Regions from separate parts of the Homo sapiens genome. Here region 2 is linked to region 1. Evidence: promoter capture Hi-C in 16 types of primary human blood cells and fetal thymus (Javierre and others, 2016). All regions are on one chromosome and are shown on one strand. The core of a region is centred on a gene start or on the middle of the fragment in contact, and the rest is flanking DNA. Distances in the headings are between cores, read along the strand shown.

The links. Contacts are between HindIII fragments. The CHiCAGO score rates a contact against its expected background, and 5 or more counts as called.
Region 2: a contact is called between a fragment that was not itself captured here and the fragment with the promoter of ADAM23 in region 1, in 1 of 17 cell types (megakaryocytes). The highest score is 5.1, in megakaryocytes.

Annotation. Positions count from the first base shown.
Region 1 is chr2:206,441,252-206,446,466 of GRCh38, reverse strand. It overlaps ADAM23 (ADAM metallopeptidase domain 23), which reads right to left and starts at 2,935. Exons shown (of 26, transcript NM_003812.4): 1 at 2,387-2,935; 2 at 943-1,160. The coding sequence starts at 2,600. RefSeq lists a silencer at 2,361-2,490. The HindIII fragment of the contact is 8,746 bases long and covers 1-5,215 here.
Region 2 is chr2:206,176,926-206,181,747 of GRCh38, reverse strand. CMKLR2 (chemerin chemokine-like receptor 2) reads left to right here. Exons shown (of 2, transcript NM_001389445.1): 2 at 4,473-4,822. The coding sequence starts at 4,501. Among named protein-coding and RNA genes, the nearest start is that of SNORA41, 17 kb to the right of the region's middle. The HindIII fragment of the contact is 3,678 bases long and covers 1-3,199 here.

The DNA of each region.
Region 1 (5,215 bases), core at 1,686-4,185:
TAAATTCTAGATGTTTAGACAGTTAATTGCTAACTGTTGTTCTCACCTGAACAAGTACAGATCAAAATGAAACATTTAACATACAGACTCTATTTTCTGCTCCCGATAAACAACAGAAGAACCGATAATCCATTGTTTAAATCTGCTCGGGGTTCAAAATAATATTAATTCAAGTAAAGAATAGTAACACAGGGAAAAAGATCCCTTAAACTCTTTGGATATTAAACATTTGTCTTCTACTGATACCTTGGTAAATATCAGTTCCACTTTCTGAACTAACCTGAAAGTAAAGCAACTGCTCATAATCAATGCAGAGTAGGTACTGAAGAATTATGCCAATCAAAATTGGTCTTCATATTATGCAAATAATTTGTGTCTAGTCACCATAATCTTTTTAAATGTCAAATTGTTTACCTATTGAAAATACAACAGAAAATTTTTTTTTCCTCCTACTGATCAATTAAAGAAACAGACTGTTTAAACACTCAATTTCTAAGTGGAAAGACTGATGGAGACACTGCAGCCAAATAGCTTCTTGAAGCAATCTTGCATGTGCAGATTGAAAGCAGTTTTTATATCATGGGAGACAGTTTTATATCAAGGCAGAATACTGCACCCTTACATAAAGCCTCACAGAAACAAGTTAGAATCATAAACACATTCACTTAACTACTGTTCAGTGCCCAATGTACCTGAAAGATACATGGATATCATTTCAGGTATCAGAAAATTCTAGTTCCAGTTTAGTCAGAGAAGAGAAACAACAGTCTTATCCCAGTAGATCCCAAGTTAATTCCTTCCAGTTTCTCCCCTATCATAATATTAATTGCTTTCTTAATAAAATGCTGCAGTAAAATTTGTGAACTCAGATTCTGGCAGAAAATCAAATCAAAGGAAAACTCTTCATGATAGTTACTTTTGCATAGCCAGCCTCCTGCCTACCTTATTATGTTTTTGCTGGTGTCTTGCCTTTGTGTCAAGAACGTGATAAGGGCTTTCCGAGTCTTGGTTGATGTAATATATGAGTCTTGAAGGCAGTGTGATTTCTTTCTGCATTGCATTGCTGTAACTGATATTACTGCTGCTATTCTGTTGCAATGTATTGTCTTCATCTGCCAGGACTCCCAAATTTTTTTCTGCAGTTTCATTCCAATGCGGAGCTGGTGGAGGTAGGGGGGTGGGGGAGCAGAAAATACAAACATACACAAACACACACATATTTACCCCATAAATACATAAGCACTAAAATGCATTTTTCCTTTAATTTCAAACACAAAGTTTTCTATTTATAAGCAGTTAAGAAGTAGAGCTAGAGTAAAGCAAGTTATTTCAACAATAAAATGGCCTGGAGAAGTTAATAAATAGCCAATAAGGCTTATACAACTGTGCACTATTTATTTTGATTTATGTCTTATATATACATTTCTAGTCAGACTCAAATCTATACTTCTAAGTGTTGGGGGGGGGGTAGAATGAACTTGAGGGAAGAAGAGTCATTAAATGAACATGTTCAGGGGTCCTGCCCCCGATCTCCACCCCTTCTCTGAGTCCACAGAAGCACAACTCTACTCTGCCTAGTGGCATCCCATCCAAGAGCTAAGAACGCTCCTAAGATAACTTGAGTACTGAATTTATGGATACCGAATATTAATCGACTCTTTTAACAAAATGGACAATTCCCTTCTCTTTTAACTTTAAGATGAGCAAACATACTTTGCCATGTAGGGATACAGATGCTGGCAGCTTCCCAATTTCTTTTTATTTTCCTGACAAAGCCAGCTTTCTGCTTTCAGTGACTTCCAATCATCAATATATAGAAGATGGTATTATATTAATTGTTCATTATAATGACAAGCACTTTGAGAAATCAGAACCAAAGGTCGTGCATGAAGTATGTCTTCAGCACCTTAATTCTTTGGTCCCCGAAGTGTGCCTCCCCCACCTTAATTCCAACCGCACTGAATGCGCCGGATACGAAATTTGAGGAAACAGCCCATTACCACTATTATCACTACATCCTCCCCGCATTCACATTAAGGTTCCACCACGCAAGTAGCAACTTGCTCCCTCGCTGTATTTCCCATCCACTGGTTGCCCCTCCGCAAGTTGCACAGAGATCGCTGAGGGACCCAGGATCCACTAAACACCTCCCAGTGGAACCAACAAGAATTGGAATGGGTTTTTCGCGAATGCAACAGAAATGGACTTCCAAAAGTGAACTGGGATGAATGGGGGTTTGGGAACGAGAAGGGTGGAAAGACAGGCAGGGAGGGAAGGAAAGGCCGAGCCGGGGACAAGCCCGGAGCACACGGACCCGCGCGCCCTTCGCTTTCCTCTGCAGGGCCCCGCGGGAAAGCCAACGCAAAGGGCACGGGGCCATACCCACCGCTGGGCGCAGCAGCCCCCCAGGCGCGGGGCCGGGACGAGGCGGCGAGCGGAGGCAGCAGGAGAAGGACGAGAAGCAGGCGGCAGGGCGGCGTGCGGGCCGGGGCGCTGGCAGGCACCGAGCCGGCGGGGCCGCGTTGGGGGCCGCAGGAAGCGCCGGCAAGGCTGCAGCCCGCCAGGGGCGGCTGCCGCGAGCTGCTGCCGGGCGGCTTCATGGCTCATAGCTCCCGGGCGCCGCTCCGTGTGGCCGGCGAGAGCGCCGGGCTAGCTGCGGGGCGGCCGCGGGCGGAGCCGGTCACGCCGGCTCGGCGCGCATGGTGCCGCGGCGGGCAGGGGGCTCCGGGCTCGGGGCACGGGGCGCGGGGCTCGGGGCTGGGCGGCGCCCCCTTTCCCGGCTCGCCTAGCCTCGCAGCCACTCCCGGGGCGGGACGCAGAGGAGTCCAGGGGTCCTCGCCGCTCCGCCAACTTGGAGCCTCCCCAGCGGCTACTCCCTCCCCCGGCGGGCGCGGCCGCTTCAGCGACTGCGGGGGCTGCCGCCGGGCCTGAGGATGCTGAGGCGGCGCGCGGGAGCGAGCGGCGCGGGGACGCGCGGGAGCGAGCGGCGCGGGGACGCGCGGAGCGGGCGTGCGCCCCGCCCCCCGAGAGCGCGCCCGAGCGGGGCTTCGGGTGCTGATGCTGTTGCTGGATGCTGTGCTGCTGCTGTTGCCTGGCCCGGAACGCACTGCGCATGCTTTGTTGGGGGGCGGGGAAGGGGGTAAAGCAGCAGAGTGATGCAGCAGCCCAAGCAGCATCGGAGGTGACGGGTGGTACCTCAAAAGATGGGGGCGGTGGAGGGGGAGCCGGCAGTCACGGATAAGCCAGAAGAAAGAGAGTACGGGGGTTTCCAGGCCAGAGACAGGGATGATCGGGAGAAAACAACCAGCCGAAGTCCACCTGCCTTTTCCACCACCCCAGACTTCACATACCCTCTCCTATTCCAACCTCTTCCTGCTCTGGATAAACTAAGGCCACGCATCTCCTTCTTAATCCCTTATATATTTGCTTCCTGCATGTAAATATAAAGGATTGCAGCCGGGGAGGTAAAAATAGCGCGGCTCCTCATTCAGATTGCCAGCAGCGGGTGGGACTGCGGCTGAGAAGAGCGTTTGCGCCGCAGGCTGGCGCGGAGTGGCAGGAATCCCCCGCGCAGGGGCGCTCTGCCCCGGCCTGTGTCCTCCCTGCCGGTGCCTGGGGTCTTTGAGGAAAGCACAAGAAGCCGGACGGTGTTTGCTCAAAAGTTCAGAAAGTATGACTGGGCATATTCGGGAAGGACTTCGACATTCTGGCGGGGAAGCAATACAGAGATTAGAAACCAAGTGTGTGGCAGCTATCTTGGGAAATCCGTTGTTTGTCAACCACGGGGATGGGCACACATTTAGGAGGACACATTTCTATTTTTGAGATCCAGTCCTGACTTCTGCAGAGGAAAGGGGAAGTTTTCTCTCGTTGCTGTAAAAAATGTAAATCCCTGACTTCGGTGGGTTCGCAGCCACTAAATCTGATGGCTTCAGATAAGAGTCTGTGGCATATTTCTGCCCCCAAACTCTCATAATGCAAGCATTCATTTATTCACCCTCCCAATGACAATCTGAGTGATAACAATGTTGTCTTACTCCGACATCCACGGGGTGAGGGCTGGGGTGGAGAATTCCATGATTAAAAGAAAGAATGTGGGTATAAAAGTGCCATGGCCATGACAGAACTCAGTGTTAGCCATCATCTTCTCCACTCACACTTAACAAAGAGAAAAGAAGAAGACATATACGCGCGCGCACACACACATTACAAAACTGTTAGGTAAATACTGAGATAACTTCCTTTCTATGTTGAGCTAGGATATTATTATCACATATTTATTCCTGTAAATTTGTAATTGTTGCTACCTCCCCCATGTGAGGGCAACAACAGTTTTCCCTTCTGCACACCATTGTGTCCCTAGGACCTCACACAGTGTCTGAGGCACAGAGAAATCGCTTGGAAAATATGTACTAAATGAATAAAGAAATGGGTGATACACACAAGCAGAAGTCACACTTGGGGCAGGCTAGTGAACACTCTAGCCCCACCGGAGTGCCCACTGCAGGTCAATGTTCTTAGGGTTGTCTCCCTCAAGTCAAGTATTCTCTGGCTAGGTTTTCCAAATTTATATTTGACACAATATGCATCCTGAAAAAGGGCCTGAGAGAAAGCAAGCCAGAAAGGAGATGTACAAGCAATGAGAAGGGAGAGGGAAATGAAAGGTGCAAAGCACCCAGATGCAAGTTACTTGAAAGGCATCTCTTGCAATTCAGTGACAACCTCTTAAAGTCTGTTCTGATAAATAAACCTATCAGCCAACCTGGACTGACCAAACCCACCCACCAGTTACAACACATCATTTCATGCACTTGGGGTATGGAATGAGGATTCAATATAGTTTCTTTTTTTCTTTTTTTTTTTTTTTTTTTGAGATGGTGTCTTGCTGTGTCACCCAGGCTGGAATGCAGTAGTGCGATCTCAGCTCACTGCAACCTCTGCCTCCCAGGTTCAAGCGATTCTCCTGCCTCAGCCTCCCAAGTAGCTGGGATTAGCTGGGATTACAGGCACGTGCCACTACACCCGGCTAATTTTTGTAGTTTTAGTAGAGACGGGGTTTCACCATGTTGGCCAGGCTGTTCTCAAACTCCTGACCTCAGGTGATCCACCCACCTCAGCTTCCCAAAGTGCTGGGATTACAGGCGTGATCCACCGCACCTGGCCTCAATATAGTTTCTAATAAGGGGTTGGGGTATTTACAAAGAGGGATGTTGTC
Region 2 (4,822 bases), core at 111-2,610, 260 kb after region 1:
TTCCTGACCTTAGATGATTCACCCACCTCGGCCTCCCGAAGTGCTGGGATTATAGGCGTGAGCCACTGCTCTCAGCCCCTTATGATTTCCTAATAACATTTTCTTTTCACTGGCTTACTTTATTGCAAGAATACGTATATAATACATAAAACATACAAAATATGTGTTAATTGATACTTTATGTCATTAGTAAGGCTTTTGATCAACAGAAGGCTATTAATAGTTAAGTTTTGGGGGAGTCAAAAGTTATATGCAAGTCAAGTTTGGTGGTATGTTCCTGTAGTCTCAGCTACTTAGGAGGCTGAGTTGGGAGGAATCCTTGAGCTCAGGAATTTGAATCCAGCCTGGGCAACATAGTGATACTCGTTTCTAAAAAAAAAAATAATAGGGCCAGGCATGGTGGCTCACACCTGTAATCCCAGCACTTTGGGAGACTGAGATGGGCAGATTACTTGAGGTCAGGAGATCAAGACAGCCAGCCTGGCCAACATGGTGAAACTCTGTCTCTACTAAAAATACAAAAATTAGCCAGCATGGTGGCAAAAGCCTGTAGTCCCAGGTACTTGGGAGGCTGAGGGAGGAGAATCACTTGAACCTAGGAGGCAGAGGTTGCAGTGAGCCGAGATCGCACCACTGCACTCCAGCCTGGGCATCAGAGTGAGAGAGTTGGTCTCAATAATAATAATAAGTCCGGGCATGGTAGCTTATGCCTAAAATCCCAATACAACACTTTGGGAGGCCAAGGTGGGCGGATCACCTGACGTCAGGAGTTCAAGACCAGCCTGGCCAACAAAGTGAAACACCATCTCTACTATAAATATAAAAATTAGCAAGGCGTGGTGACAGACACCTGTAATCCCAGCTATTAGGGAGGCTGAGGCAGGAGAATCACTTGAACCCGGGAGGCGGAGGTTACAGTGAGACGAGATTGTACCACTGCACTCCAGCTTGGGCAACAGGGCAAGACTCTGTCTCAAAATAATAATAATAATAATAATAATAATAATAATAATGGGCTGGGCACAGTTACTCACTCCTGTAATTCCAGCACTCTGGGAGGCTGAGGCAAGAGAATCACTTAAGGCCAAGAGTTCAAGACCAGCCTGGGCAACATAACAAGACCCCATCTCTACAAAAATAAAAATATCAGCCAGGCATGGTGATGTACTTCTGTAGTCCCAGCTACTTGGGAGGTGGAGGTGGGAGAATGACTTGAGCCTAGGAGTTTGAGGCTGCAGTGAGCTATGATTGTGCCACTGCGTTCTGACCTGGGTGACAGTGGCAGACTATGTCTCAATAACAACGAAAAGTTTTATGTAAATTTTTTTTACTGTGTGTGGGGTCAGCGCCTCTAGGCACCCCCCATGTTTTTCAAGGGTCACCTGTACTTACCCACAATGTAAGATCTTTTTTTTTTTTTTAAGAGACAGTTTCTCACTTTGTTGTCCAGGCTTGTCTCAAACTCTTAGGCTCAAGCAATCCTCCTGCCTTGGCCTCCCAAAGCACTGGGATTACAAGTGTATGTAAGATTCTTATGAGGATCAAATTAGATCATACATGTCTGGCATCTAGTAAATTCTCAATAACATTGACTATCATTTTATTATAAATTGTTTTAATAATAACAATAATAATTATTATAATTATCTGCAGGAAGGTAAGTCAGAAAATGTTTCTAAGAAAGGTGGCATTTGAATTGAATATTGAAGAACAAAAAAGTTGCTGGGCTAGGGTTGGGAGGAAGGGAATAAATTGCTTCTGTTTTTTGCCCTGCCGGATTTCTCAGAAGGTTTTAGGTAGGATGATGAATTCAGCGATAGTCAAATTGAATTTGAGATGCCTGTGAGCAACACAGGATGTTTTGACCTCTTTATTCTAACCCTACTATAATCTAAAATTTTACATACTTGCCTCATGTATGATTGTAACTCCATGAAATGAATATAACTATTAATCTTTTTTCTGCTTGATCTTCATTCAATACTACAGATAGAAATAGCACAAAATAAAATGGAAGAAGACAGAGTTACACACAGTATACTTTTGTGCTGATTGAAAAACTGACATTCAAGTCTTCTTAACCCAGAAAAACTGGTCTTGATAAGAAAAAAGGCAGAGGGGCAGGGCGCGGTGGCTTATTCCTGTAATCCCAGCACTTTGGGAGGCCCAGGTGGGTGGATCACGAGGTCAAGAGATCGAGACCATCCTGGCCAACATGGTGAAACCCTGTCTCTACTAAAAATACCTGGAGGCTGAGGCAGGAGAATCACTTGAACCCGGGAGGTGGAGGTTGCAATGAGCCGAGATGGCGCCACTGCACTCCAGCCTGGTAACAAGCAAGACTCCGTCTCAAAAAAAAAAAAAAAAAAAAAAGGCTGGGTGCGGTGGCTCATGCCTGTAATCCCAGCACTTTGGGAGGCCAAGGTGGGCGAATCACCGGAAGTCGGGAGTTCGAGACCACCCTGACCAACATGGAGAAACCCTGTCTCTACTAAAAACACAAAAATTAGCTGGGCGTAGTGGCACATGCCTGTAATTCCAGCTACTCGGGAGGCTGAGGCAGGAGAATTGCTTGAACCCGGGAGGTGAGGTTGAGGTGAGCCAAGATCACACCATTGCACTCCAGCCTGGTCAACAAGAGCAAAATTCTGTCTCAAAAAAAAAAAAAAAAAAAAAAAAAAAAAAAAAAAAAGGGACAGGGAGCGGGCACAAAATAAAACTTACTTTGGTAGAAATTATAAGAGACAAAATTTGGTATGGGCAAAAATAAAGTAAAACTGATTAATAAATCCAATCTTTGGCCAGGCACTCTGGCTTACACCTGTAATCCCAGCACTTTGGGAGGCTGAGATGGGTGGATCACTTGAGATCAGGAGTTTGAGACCAGCCTGGTCAACATGGTGAAACCCTGTCTCTACTAAAAATACAAAAATTAGCCAGGAGTGGTAGCCAGCATCTGTAATCCCAACTACTCAGGAGGCTCAAACAGGAGAATTGCTTGAGCCCAGGAAGCAAAGGCTACAGTGAGCCGAGATCGTGCCATGCATTCCAGCCTCTGTAACGGGAGGTTGTCTCAAAAAAACAAACAAACAAACAAACAAAACAAAAATAGAAGGCTGTCTCAAAAAAAAATCTAATCTTTGTCATAAATTATTATGGAAAAGAATTATTTCAATAAGATAAAAATTTAAATAAAGCTTAATTGCATTCTGTAGGAAATTAATATAGAAATTAAGTGGTCATAATCAAATTTAATCCAAAAGCTACCTTTTGGATGAGAAGCCATCCATATTGATATAATTCTGATTACTATGTTTGCTTTCATAAACATGGACTCAAAACATCCTTGGATGCAAAATCTCAGGTCAAAATCTCCAGTGACATCCAGATGGATTGGTCTAGGAAATAGTAGGAACTCTTTATCTAGAGTTTAAGAAGTCAGGGCAACAACAAATCCAGATTTTTCAGGAAAAAATTTGTTTTGAGGTGGGGTCCTGCTCTGTTGCCCAGGCTGGAGTGCAGTGGCTTGATCATAGCTCGCTGCAGCCTCAAACTCCTGGGCTCATGCAATCCTCTTGCCTTGGCCTCCTGAGTAGTTGGGACTACAGCATGAGCCACTAGATCTGGCTATTTTAAAAATTTATTTTTTGTAGAGACAGGTTTTTGCTATATTTCCCAGGCTGGTCTCAAGCAATCTCCCTGTCTCAGCCTCCCAAAGTGCTGGGATTACAGGTGTGAGCCACTGTGTCTGGCTGAAATACAGATTTTGAAGCTATCACTCTGTAAGTATTAATCCGTTTTCTTTTGCATCTGCCATAAAATAATAATGCATAGTAGGAATCTAATAAATGCTTGTTGAATTCTCTCTAGTCAGCCCTACAAGCATTACGAACTGAAGAATTATAACCGTAGAGTCATTCATTTTAATTTAGCAAGTACTAAATACTTTACAGAAAGGAACTCTCATGCTGGGAGAATGATAATCAGAGTGAAACTGAGGCTCACCAAGACTTGAACATATGGAGTATAACCACAAGTCCTATCAAAAAATATACTATATTTGCTGGGTATAGTTGCTCATGCCTATAATCCCAGCACTTTGGGAGGCTGAGGTAGGAGGATCACTTGAGCCCAGGAGTTCAAGACCAGCCTGGGCAACATAGTGAGACCTCATCTCTACAAAAAATTTAAAAATTAGCTGGGCATGGTCATGAGCACCTGTGGTCCTAGTTATTGGGGTGGCTGAGGTAGGAGGCACTTGAGCCTAGGAGGTCAAGGCTGCAGTGAGCCAAAAGCATGCCATTGCACTCCAGCTTGGGCAACAGAGTGAGACCCTGTCTCAAAAAAAAGAAAAAATAATACTATGTCTGGTCCATAACCTGAAATATTTTTATCTTCACGTTCCTTATCATTCACTGAACTTTTATTTTTCTTTTAAAATTTTTTCTTTCTTTTTAAATTTGCTTCTACAGATTTCTTCATTCTCCATTTAGCAAGGTCATGGAAGATTTGGAGGAAACATTATTTGAAGAATTTGAAAACTATTCCTATGACCTAGACTATTACTCTCTGGAGTCTGATTTGGAGGAGAAAGTCCAGCTGGGAGTTGTTCACTGGGTCTCCCTGGTGTTATATTGTTTGGCTTTTGTTCTGGGAATTCCAGGAAATGCCATCGTCATTTGGTTCACGGGGTTCAAGTGGAAGAAGACAGTCACCACTCTGTGGTTCCTCAATCTAGCCATTGCGGATTTCATTTTTCTTCTCTTTCTGCCCCTGTACATCTCCTATGTGGCCATGAATTTCCACTGGCCCTTTGGCATCT